Regions from separate parts of the Homo sapiens genome. Here region 2 is linked to region 1. Evidence: promoter capture Hi-C in 16 types of primary human blood cells and fetal thymus (Javierre and others, 2016). All regions are on one chromosome and are shown on one strand. The core of a region is centred on a gene start or on the middle of the fragment in contact, and the rest is flanking DNA. Distances in the headings are between cores, read along the strand shown. Region 1 holds the start of ASPN (asporin). Region 2 overlaps IPPK (inositol-pentakisphosphate 2-kinase).

What was found. The method cuts DNA at HindIII sites, captures the fragments that hold promoters and counts their contacts. A CHiCAGO score of 5 or more calls a contact.
Region 2: a fragment that was not itself captured here is called in contact with the fragment with the promoter of ASPN in region 1 in 2 of 17 cell types (megakaryocytes and M1 macrophages); the score reaches 5.3 in megakaryocytes.

What each region holds. Positions count from the first base shown.
Region 1 is chr9:92,479,010-92,484,651 of GRCh38, reverse strand. ASPN (asporin) reads left to right here and starts at 2,146. Exons shown (of 8, transcript NM_017680.6): 1 at 2,146-2,359. The region is part of intron 5 of CENPP (centromere protein P); the gene reads right to left. The HindIII fragment of the contact is 2,340 bases long and covers 1,727-4,066 here.
Region 2 is chr9:92,662,477-92,668,118 of GRCh38, reverse strand. The region is part of intron 1 of IPPK (inositol-pentakisphosphate 2-kinase); the gene reads left to right. Among named protein-coding and RNA genes, the nearest start is that of IPPK, 4.8 kb to the left of the region's middle. The HindIII fragment of the contact is 6,089 bases long and covers 1-5,452 here.

The sequences.
Region 1 (5,642 bases), core at 897-3,396:
ACTGGGAAAGCCTAATTTTTAAAGAGAAGTTGAAATCTTATTTTTAAATACAGCAATTTCACCTAACAAAAATACATACACATGACCCCCAAATGACAGACTGAGGAACGTTCATAGTACCTCTCCAAAAGGTAATTAATCTAGTTGAATATATAAACAATTTGTGGCTTATTCATGTATGAGAATACTATACAGTGACAAGAATGAACTACTGTGTATCACAATGACACGAATGGATCTCAAAAGCATGTCACTGAATGAAAAAAGCCAGATGCAAAAGAGAATGCACAGTATGATTCCATTTATATAAAGTTCAGGAAATAACCTATGGTGCTGAACTCAGGCTGTGACTTGAGGAGTAAGAGGAGGGATTCTGGATGTATGAGAATGGAGTGTGAGGCTGGGATTTCTTGATTGGGGTCATTTTGTAAAAATTAATTGAGTTGTACCATTATGATATGTTTTTTTTTGGTAACATACACTTCAATAAACAGTTCAGAAACAAAACATTGTGCAGGACAAACTGAATTTGACCCAAGGGCTTCCTGTTTATGACTGTGTTCTGAAGGAATTTAGGCAAACACTAGATGCTCTGGATACAAAGATTTTAAAAATCCAGTTCATATTTTCATTATGTTCCCAATTCATCCAGTTAACAGATACATTTGCAACTGAAATATACTTGAATAAATGAGAATATGAGCATTCTAAACCAAACAGGAGGGCCGTCATTCCCTAAGGTGCTGCAGGGCTAGGATGGGGCCTGAGTTACAGAGGGCCACTAATGGGACTACCGAGCTGCCTGGAACTGTCAGCCTAGAGGTCCAAGGAGGAGTACTTTATTTAAGTGAGGGGAGGATGAACACATAGCCAGCTGCTATGCACATCTGAGGCACATGTATTCTTTAGGACTGTAGCTGCCTTGCTTAACACAATGTGTGCCATTTCTCTGGAGAGAGGGAACAAACGATGGTCAGACTCTTGATGACAGTAGAGAACAGGTCTTCTAACCCACTGGAAAAGCTCTTTGCTGGCCTCCAAATCTATACAACAGTTGGGAAGAACCATTGGGGTCACTTACAACAGTAAGTCCTTGCCACTAGGGTTAGAAAACTGTCCTCTCAGGCCGGCCATGGTGGCTCATGCCTGTAATCCCAGCACTTTGGGAGGCCGAGGCGGGCAGATCACGAGGTCAGGAGATCGAGACCATCCTGGCTAACACAATGAAACACTGTCTCTATTAAAAAACCAAAAAATTAGCCAGGCGTGGTGGCGGGCGCCTGCAGTCCCAGCTACTCGGGAGGCTGAGGCAGGAGAATGGCGTGAACCTGGGAGGCAGAGCTTGCAGTAAGCCAAGATTGCGCCACCGCACTCCAGCCTGGGTGACAGAGTGAGACTCCGTCTCAAAAAAAAAAAAAAGAAAACTGTCCTCTCTTGAAGGTCTTAGTTGATGTAGAATTGGGCAGTCTCTTGGGGATGAGTGGAAAGGGGGTACAAATAATGATTTATTTTCAGGAAATAGCATCTTCCCTGCTCTAAGTCTCCCTAAATGTCAGTGAGGCCATAGCTAATATTCTCTTGAAAAGGGAAAGTTGTATGCATCCTAAGAGGGTGTTACTTGGACATGCATGTGTGTCTGTGTTATATCACATATGTTGAGTCCAGGGAGCAGTTCATGGAGCCTCATCCATAGTTTCCCTGACATGCTATAGCAGTGCTAAAAGCTTAAAAAAAAAAAAAAGTCTGGAGAAGTATGCATAATGCAATAGCTACAGTCATTAGAAGAAAAAAAAAGTATGGTTCTTTCTCAGGTACATCTGAAGTTTGGGTATATACTTCAGTAATGTTGGTATCCTTTATTCAGATTGATAAATATTTTATTAGTCTATACAGGTTGAGTAATTTTTGAAATTGTAATTTACAAATATTCATTCACTTAAGAATCTAATATTTTTAAAACTAGGTATTTCTTGAATGACTCCGACTGCACTTTCAATGGCCAGTTGCCATGCATTATTAAACTTTCTTTTTTTTTCTTCTTCAGAATCTTCCAGTAGACGTCTAGAGTTTAGCTAGAAGTCTTGGCTACGATACAAACAGTGATGGAAAACACATGAGCAGTAACAAGTTTTAATCTTGCTCCTCAGTACTAACATGGACTAATCTGTGGGAGCAGTTTATTCCAGTATCACCCAGGGTGCAGCCACACCAGGACTGTGTTGAAGGGTGTTTTTTTTCTTTTAAATGTAATACCTCCTCATCTTTTCTTCTTACACAGTGTCTGAGAACATTTACATTATAGATAAGTAGTACATGGTGGATAACTTCTACTTTTAGGAGGACTACTCTCTTCTGACAGGTATGTTTCATGTCTATCTTACAAGTATCGATGTATACTTTACAGTCAATACTAAGGAGACATTAATGTTATTAATAAATGCTTATAAATAATAGGATAAAGTCCAAAGTTTATCTCTATAATTTCTTAAAAATCAGCATTTAAATACAAACCTAAATTTGTACCTAAAATTATTCTAGTTTTATGTCTTACCTATAATGAATGTATTTTAAATATAATTATGTGACTTTTTTTTTCAGCTAAGTGAAAACCTGTCATTATGCCTTACCATAAATGTTAACATGATTGATTTTAAAAGTCATCTAAATAAACATCTTGTATGTTTATCTAGGAAAATAACATTGCTATAATAATGATCATGAAGTTTGGGGATATCACAGCTATATTAAATGAAACAGTAAATATATTTTTCAATATTTAAAATATTTTCTAATGTGTATTTAAAATGTGTGAATTACTGAAATGTCAATTTTACTTATACATTTGAATATTCATTTTTTTCCTTGATAAATGTCTTCCTTATTATAATGAAATGGCACTGAAAAGTTCAAATGGAAATCTATTCAATTCCAAGAAAGAATACTTATCAGCAATAGTTTAGCTAGCACTATATTCAATATGAAAGATTAGGAAATTTTCACAGCATGTATACAGTCAGAATTTAACACTTTCAAAGATTTCCTTTGTCTACTCCCAAAGTAAATTTCTGATTAAATTTTAGATTAAAAAATTTAAGCAATGTATTCAATATTCTACTCCCTAGTAATCTAAATAGCGCACAGCATTCTTTCATGTTAATCTATTCAGAGGTGTGGCACCCAGGAAACAGTGGCCACATGGTGTAGGGACTGAGTCATAAAGAACCTGAGGGGGTTGTATTTCCCTAAAAATAAAGTTGTTTAAATCCAAGAATCAAGCTGTTAAAAGAAAGAAATGAAAAAAGAAAGAAAAATCGAGCACAAGCCCACACACATAAAAGGATCCTGATGTTTTTAGTTTGTTTTTTGGCATTAAGGAGTATAGTGTAGTAGTGGAAAGAACAGAGGATATATAGTCTTCTGTTACAACTAACTACTCAATTAAAAACAAATATTCTGATAACTGATCTGAGGTTTGAGACAAAAACAATTAACTTTACAAGCACAAGTCTTGAGGCACTGTGGGAAACATCATAAAAATGGAGAGGCAGTAGATTTTGTTTTTTAAGACAGTAGCTTGATTGCTAGACATGTGGAGAAATTAATGAAGGGCAAAATTAGTATAAAAGGAAGAACAGCTAGAATGCTTTGTCAGAATGCTAGTTATACTTCTAAGGTAAAATTAACTACTTTTTAAGGAAAGTGCTATCTTTATCAGTATCCATGAACAAATGGTACTGTGAATAAGTTTCCAAATGCATGTTGGACTTTTAACTCATTTGTTAGCTTACAAGACTATGCCTTGATTACATCTGAATTTGGTTTGGATTCCTTCGGTGAAATATATGGAGTATGTTATATCACATTTATATGCTGAAATCTGCTACTGGTACCTGTGAACTGATAGGCATGTTTAAACCCAGGGGAAAAGTTGCCAAGCGGGCCTTTAAACATGGGATTTAAAAGCACAGTGACTTATTTACCTAATAATAGTGTCTGAGAGGAAATACCATTTCACTTAGATAAACTTTCTAAGTTTGTAGACCAGTTAAATGGAAACAAGAAAGCTTATGTGCTTCTTAAGCTTTATTTCCAGTCCATATGTTATGAACTCTTTTAAGAACTTGGCCAAACCTCCTTACCTAGGCTTTTCCAGAGGAAAGTCTGTTTACTGTCTGGAAGTAACTATGAGATTAAAATCCATTTAGGAGGACATGCAGTCTAGTGCAAAGCACAACCAACAAGCAGTGAGGAAGCCAGCCCTCAGCTCCACCACCTCCAGCCAGTTCTGGACGCTCACTGCCTCTGCTTTTTCTCAGTAAAAGAGGGCCATGGGGGGAAAGTCTCAAAGACCTCTCTTAGCTCTAGGCTACTATGATTTATTAGTAATAGCAGTAGCACTGGAAGAATACTCCAAACACTACTCTGATTAAGAGAGACTTGAAACCAAAATCCAAAGCTTTCCATGAGTGGAAAACACTGGCAAAACTGGTCTAAATCAGGGAAATATTGAGTATTCCTGAGAAGAAGATTTAATATTTTTAAAGGGTTTAAAAATAGAGTAACCTGAATACTGCCAAAACTAATAAAACAGAGGTTGTACCTCATTAATAAACTCAAAATAAAACAGCCAAAAGTCATATCATTTTAAATGACATATAATATTCTCTACATTCTTTCTGAATAATAAGAAAAAAATACTGCTATCTAGGGTTCTCTCCTAGACATTCCATTATTTTCCTATTGGTAAACAGTTGCACACTGAACTGGGGGAGGTTTAGGACCTATACTTGATTGTACTTATTAACAAAGCAGTGGAAGAGACCCAGCAAGAGACTCAGGTAAAGAGTGTAAATAATGAATTCCTCATGGTATCAAGGTTGGCCTGACTTTTTTCTTTGCAAGCAACCAGGATACACAAATGCAAAAGATTAGATTAATTGTAAAAGGCTAACAGAAGACAGAACTAGCAGAGAGAAATGAATTTTCCAGAAGGCATTTTTGAGTTTCCATATAAAGACTTTCCTAACAGCCATGGATGGACAACTGTGGAAGATGCTGCCTTGAGGTAGTATCCTCTCCCTGGAGCTATTCAAGCAGGGTGGATATGCTCCCTGTTCCAGAATGTTCTGGAACCTTCACCACCAGGAGGAACTCCTGTTTCAAAGGTCTTCATCTCTTATTCTCCAGGAAAGGGCCTAACTACTATATAAAAGTGGCTGCCTCCACTGCTCAGCAACTGGAATGCTTCCCAACAGCTAAAGATAATGCTACTGCCTAAAACTTGCAGGCAGAAGTCTCCATTTCATATTTTAATTTTACCGCAGTTTTGATTAAAGGCAGGGAGGGTCTCCTGTAACTTATCAGTCTCAGAAAGAGGAGAGACAAAGGAAGGGGCCCCGGCTGATGCTTCTCCTGATGCCACTGGGGGACTGGTCAGCAGCCCTGAGGCAGGGATGTGGAAAAAAGCAGGACCACTACTGTTCTGCTCCCTGCCTTCCCTGCCCTGTGTGCCTTCTCCTTCTCCTCTCAACTCTCAGTTCTGCTCCTCATACCTGATCCAGTTCCTCATCTCGAACCTCAGCTCAGTACTGGGGAAGCCTCTCTTGACGGTGGCACGAGGCTGAAGGCATCTGGGAAACCAT
Region 2 (5,642 bases), core at 1,159-3,658, 180 kb before region 1:
TTTTTGTATTTTTAGTAGAGATGAGGTTTCACCGTGTTGACCAGGCTGGTCTCCAACTCCTAACCTCAAGTGACACCCACCTCAGCCTCCCAAAGTGCTGGGATTACAGGCGTGAGCCACCACGCCAGGTTGATTGTTTATTTTTTCTTTCACCTTTTCAAATTTACCTACAGCCACCAGGCTGTTCTAGACCTATGCTATTCATTCTTTTTTTTTGAGACGGAGTCTTGCTCTGTCTCCCAGGCTGGACTGCAGTGGCGCAATCTTGGTTCACTGCAACCTCTGCCTCCTGGGTTCAAGCAATTCTCCTGCCTCAGCCTCCCAAGTAGCTGGAATTACAGGTGCCTGCCACCATGCCTGGCTAATTTTTTTGTATTTCACCACGTTAGCCAGACTGGTTTCAAACTCCTGACCTCAAATGACCCGCCCGCCTCAGCCTCCCAGAGTGCTGGGATTACAGGTGTGAGCCACTGTACTCAGCCTCATTTTTTATTTTAAATCTAAACTTGCTTTACTGTGCTCATTCCTGCTTGGTTGTTGTTTTTAGCTCATCATTTGAAATTGAAGATTATCACTGCACATAGTCTCATGAGAAAATGTTTCCCATCAAGTTAAGGTCAGATGGAGCCTGTGCCTGATGTGGTAACCTGAACCAAGCCTAGCCCACCAGCTCTGCCCTGTGGCCTGTTTGCTCAGGCTGTGGACCGAGGAGGAGAGAGAGCAATTCCCAGAAGGCAGCTTTTTAGGACCTGTTGAGTTCGAGCAGAGGGTGTGTGTCAGTGGGATAAGAGATGGGTGAGGTAGAATAGGAGGAGTCCGTGGTCTTGTGGATGCTGAGCATGCGCCCAGCCTCCTTCCAGCCGGGTGTGGGAGCAGGTGGACCCTGCTACTGTACTCCTTAGATCCACCTCATTCAGTCCAAGAGAGAGGGAGGCCTTTGCCAAGTTTTTCCAGGTAAGGAGAGGGTTGCTTTCTCTGAGAGGACATCAGCTTCTCTCAGAATTGAAAGGTCCCTAATGAGTCCTGTGCTGACCCCCATCCCCTCTACCATGAGAACATGATGCGCCTTCAGCCAGCCTGAGCTCGTCCTGCAGGAGCCGAGGGCCTAGGTAAGGAGATCTGCATGGTCATTGGCTGTCAGCACTAGAAGGAGCACAGTGATGTTCTTCCTGCAGTATGCAAACATGGGATGAGAGAGAGCCTTCTGTGCAGCGCAGGACTTGTAGGAAATGAGGCCTGGGGATGGAGGAACTAGGTGTGGGCTACAGGAGGGTGGGAGGTTGTGCCCAGGGTGGGCAGGAAGGTAAATAGCAGGCCAGCCATAGAGAGGCGTTTAAAGGTGTTCCTGACAGAAGGTGGTCAGCTTCCCCAAGGCCCTTCCACTCAGAGACGGCCCAGGATGATTCTCATTTTGCCTGTCAGTTTGCATTCTGCCTCTGTTTGGGATGGTTGTGCACCTGAACTTTCCCAGGCACAGGTAACCATGGTGTTCTCTGCCTCATGTGGTGTGGACCCTGTGGCATGCTTGAGAGGCTCTCGGCAGCCTGGCATGTTCCCTGGTGTGTGTCTGGAGCTCCAGACACTGACCCTGTGGGGGCTCCTTGATGAGGGAACTTCCCATCTGGGCACAGTTTCCTCGCTGCAGCCTGAAGGTGCAGTACTTGGGCCAGTGGCCACATCTCAGGTTAGTGAAGTCCACAGGTTGCCCCTTTATGCACTGCCGCAGGATTTCTCTCCTGTGTGACGCCTGCGCCTGCCTCCTTCGCCTTCAGCTTGTTGGTTTTGGCTCAGTGTCCTGTCCTATGAAGGTCACTTTAGGTTTGGTTTGTCATTCCATCTCCTAGGTGTCTTCAGATCTGGATCATGCACTTGTCTGGGGCACTGAGCCCCTTCCGGACCACCTCAGCCTTGGGGAGCAGGGGCAGAAGGTGGCCCACTCCTGTCATGACACTAAGCTGTCATGATGTTTTCCTTCTTACTGACAGAGGTGACAGGAAAGACTTTGCCATTTAGTTGGCTTACCAGCCAACTAAATTGATCACATGTGTGGACAAAGCTGCTCACTTCCAGTTGTTCCAGTTTCGTGACCTTTCTGAGAGTCTGAGAGCTTCAGATCATTTCTGCAAATTGTTTTGTTGCCTGGGGAGTTTTGGTGTCCCTTTGGTACCTGTTTAGTGCTTGGGATATTTGTCTGGGCATTGAAGGTGTGAAGCTCAAGCGGTCAGGTGCCCTTCTACTGTTTCTCTTCTCATCTTGTGTTTTAAGATTTCTGGTTCATAGATCATATATATATGTATTTTTTTTGCCATACAGCATGATTTTGTATATTTTAATAATTTAAATGATTATTTTGTAGTGGATGAATTAAGTCCTTTATATGAGGATGTGTTTACAGTTACGTAGAAAAAGCAGGTTACAAAAGAAGATGCATGATGTGGTTATAATTACAAAATGATTAGAAGAAAATAGATGAAAATGTTCTAAGTGGCTGTAACTGATAGTATCACGAATCACTTTTACTTTTTTTTGTTTTTTAAATATTTTCTGAATTTCCTACAATGGATATGTATGATACTCAGGAAAAAAGATTAATTTTTAAAAAGTTTATACTCTTTGATTTACTAATTTCTGTTCTAGTAGTCCGTTCTAAGGAGATAATTAGAAACGTAAATAAAGATCTTATACACAAAGATATCCATTACAGAATCACTTAGAACAGGTTAAGTGGAAAGCCATTGTGCAGTCCTGCAGGACTGTTAACTGGGCCATACTTCCTACTGTGGATGCTGAAAGCACATACGTTTATGTTCTCTGTTTTTTTCTGACTGTATAACATGTGCCCAAGCCCTTGGTCGCTCCCTTTTACAATTTTTAGCTGGACCTAGTTGAAATAGTCTTAGCTTTCTGTTACTGCTAGCATTTTGTTTAAACTAGTGATGTATTCTGCATTTGGGATTTTTAGTGGCGCTCTAGGCTGACGCAGCTGATGTGGCTTCTTTCCTGGTGATGTTCCTTCTTGTCTCATTTGAGCTCATTGGAGAGCTGTGCTTGTGGCTCGCTCTTTGTTTATTCCTTTCTTTGTATCTGCAGTTGCGTGATGAGGTCTGCTGTTTGGTGACTGCAGCCTGTGACAGTGCCTCTCGTGCACGGGGGTTTGTTGGTTTGGCCTTGGCTCACCTCCTACTTTTACACCTTCTGAGGTCACACAGCCACTTTTCTTCTGCCTGACTGAGCCTCCTTCTGCATCAGAATTCAGTCAGAGCAAAGCTCCCCAGTGACTTCCTGTGTCTTCTGAGAGCTGCGATCCAGGAGGGTGAGAAAAGCATCATTACTGTGTCTGCAGAGAGCAAGGCTGTGCCTAGGGCCCGGCCACTCCTGCCTTGTTGCCAAGCGGTTGGGAGATCTGAGGGCCCGGACTTGCTCACAGTTCCCTGTGGCCCTCACTGTGGGCCTCTAGGCAGCCCTGCTTCCCCTTTACAGGCAGTGAGGCTTTCCATGCCTATAGGGGTCAGCCCCATGCACGAGGTGTGCCTATCCCCACAGGCCTCCCCATGTTCTGAGAGTTGTGTGGGTGTGTGACCTCCCCCATGGCCCACACCTGTGCCTGCTTCAGTCCTGCAGAGGACACCATGAGGTCAGGACGGAGTTGCCGAGGCTTGAGGACATGCCCCATACAGGTTGGACAAGGGGCCAGCACTTACTGCGCCCTGACCCCAGGCTGTCTCCAGTCTGGCCTCCCTGCTCTTGCCTGCAGAGTACTGGGCTCCCATCCTCCACAGGCATCTTGGTGATGTCACTTTTCATCCGGTGTCAAATGTGCTTTGTATTTCTATCTGAGGCCATACATTCCCAGTGAAGCGAAGCTCACCCTTGGGAGCGCTTCCTGTTGGAGCCCAGTACCGTAAGCCCTGCTTCTTGTTCCCTCCACGGTCCTACGCATCCTGGACATCCCTTTCTGGGTTGCAGAGGTGGACTTCGGCACCTCCTGCCCCTGGTGACTGACAGACCCCGGGCAGCCTTCTCTGGCTGGGACAGAGCTGGAGCTGGAGCTGCGGGGGTAAGCTAAGGAGGGTCTACAGGGAGGGCAGCCTCTTGAGACTGGACATTTGGGATCCCCCATGGCCCCTGCCTGGGAGTCATCTTCACAATTCGGAAGAAGCTGGAGCTGAGCATTGCTTCTAGAAGGCATCCTGAGGGGTGACCCCTGCTGCTGTTGTCTTTTTCTGTCTTCCCTTCCCATGAAAGTTGTCTGATCTCAGCTTCAGGTTATCTCCTCAGCCTGATGGAAGACTTGACCTTGGTCCTTGTCTTTTGACAGATCTCTGGAACAGCTGATTTTGTGGGTGATACCCCTCCAGAGTGAGTCCTCTGTGGGTGGCGGGAAAGTCTCTCCTCATCTGTCCTGAAAGGCTCTTGTAGTTAGTAGCTTTAATTCCACCCATAAGGTGCCCCCTCAGGCTTCCCATTGGCAGGTGTCCCTTTTAATGTATTGGGGTTTTTGTGGCCTTCTATTTTTATTTAACACCAATTGTTGCTTCTTCTCTCTGAAAATATAGAATATCAGAAGGAAGGAAGTGAAAAACATCCAATATTTCTCCATGAAGAGAACAAGTTTTGTTAACACTTTGGTGCACTTTCTTCTAGTCTTTTTCTATTTATTGTCAAGCATCGCTTAACACCAGGGATGCATTTTGAGAGCTGCATTGTTAGGTGATGTTGTTGCCATATGAACACACCTAGATGGTAGAGCCTGCCCCATGCCCAGGCTGTGTGGGGCAGCCTATGGCTCCTAGTCCTCAGACCCGCGCAGCATGGTTCTGGACTGAGTACTGCAGGCCATTGGGACACAATGGGAAGTGTTTGTTATCTAAAGGTAGAAACTGTGGTATTATAATCCTATGGGACACACCATTGTTTCATGCAGTCCATCACTGACCCAAGTGTTGTTATGTGATGCATGACTGTATTTTGTCTTTATTGGGTAGTTAACAACACTACGTATCTGTTTCTGTTTTGGGATTTTTTTTCACTTAATTTTATAGCACAAATATGTAGAAAATCCTCATGCATGTCTTGAAGGGTGCTCACGTGTTCCCAGTGTTGCGTTGGACATCCTTGTGGGTGGGCTTTGCCGAAAGTCTTCGTACACACTTCTTTGGACTTCTGATGCTCAGGCTGGGTTCTTGGGTGAATTAGGCCCCTTGGCACACGTTGCAGATCGCTTTCCACATGGCTGTGCCACCTACCCTTCCGCTGCAGCCCAGAAAGGGATTTTTATTGAAATGCTTTTTGCCACTTTTGTAAGTGACGAGTTGTGTCCCTTAACCTTTTAAATCTTGGGGTTATTTAGTGTGTGTGTATAAATGCATCACTCCTCTTGTTCTTCCTGTTGTTTGGTGTTTTTGGCTTGTTAGAATCCTTGATTTTCATCTAATTTTCCAAGGTGGAAGCTTCCCTGTTACCAAGACATAAAGGTGTGGCTTGGGCCTTGGTTTAGCGTTGCTTTTGTTAAGAAACACCCCAGCCCTCAGACTGCAGAAGTATCAAGTTCTTCCCTTCCAATCTTAACTCTTTTTCTTCACTTTTTTTTTTTTTGAGACGGAGTTTCGCTCTTGTTGCCCAGGCTGGAGTGCAATGGTACA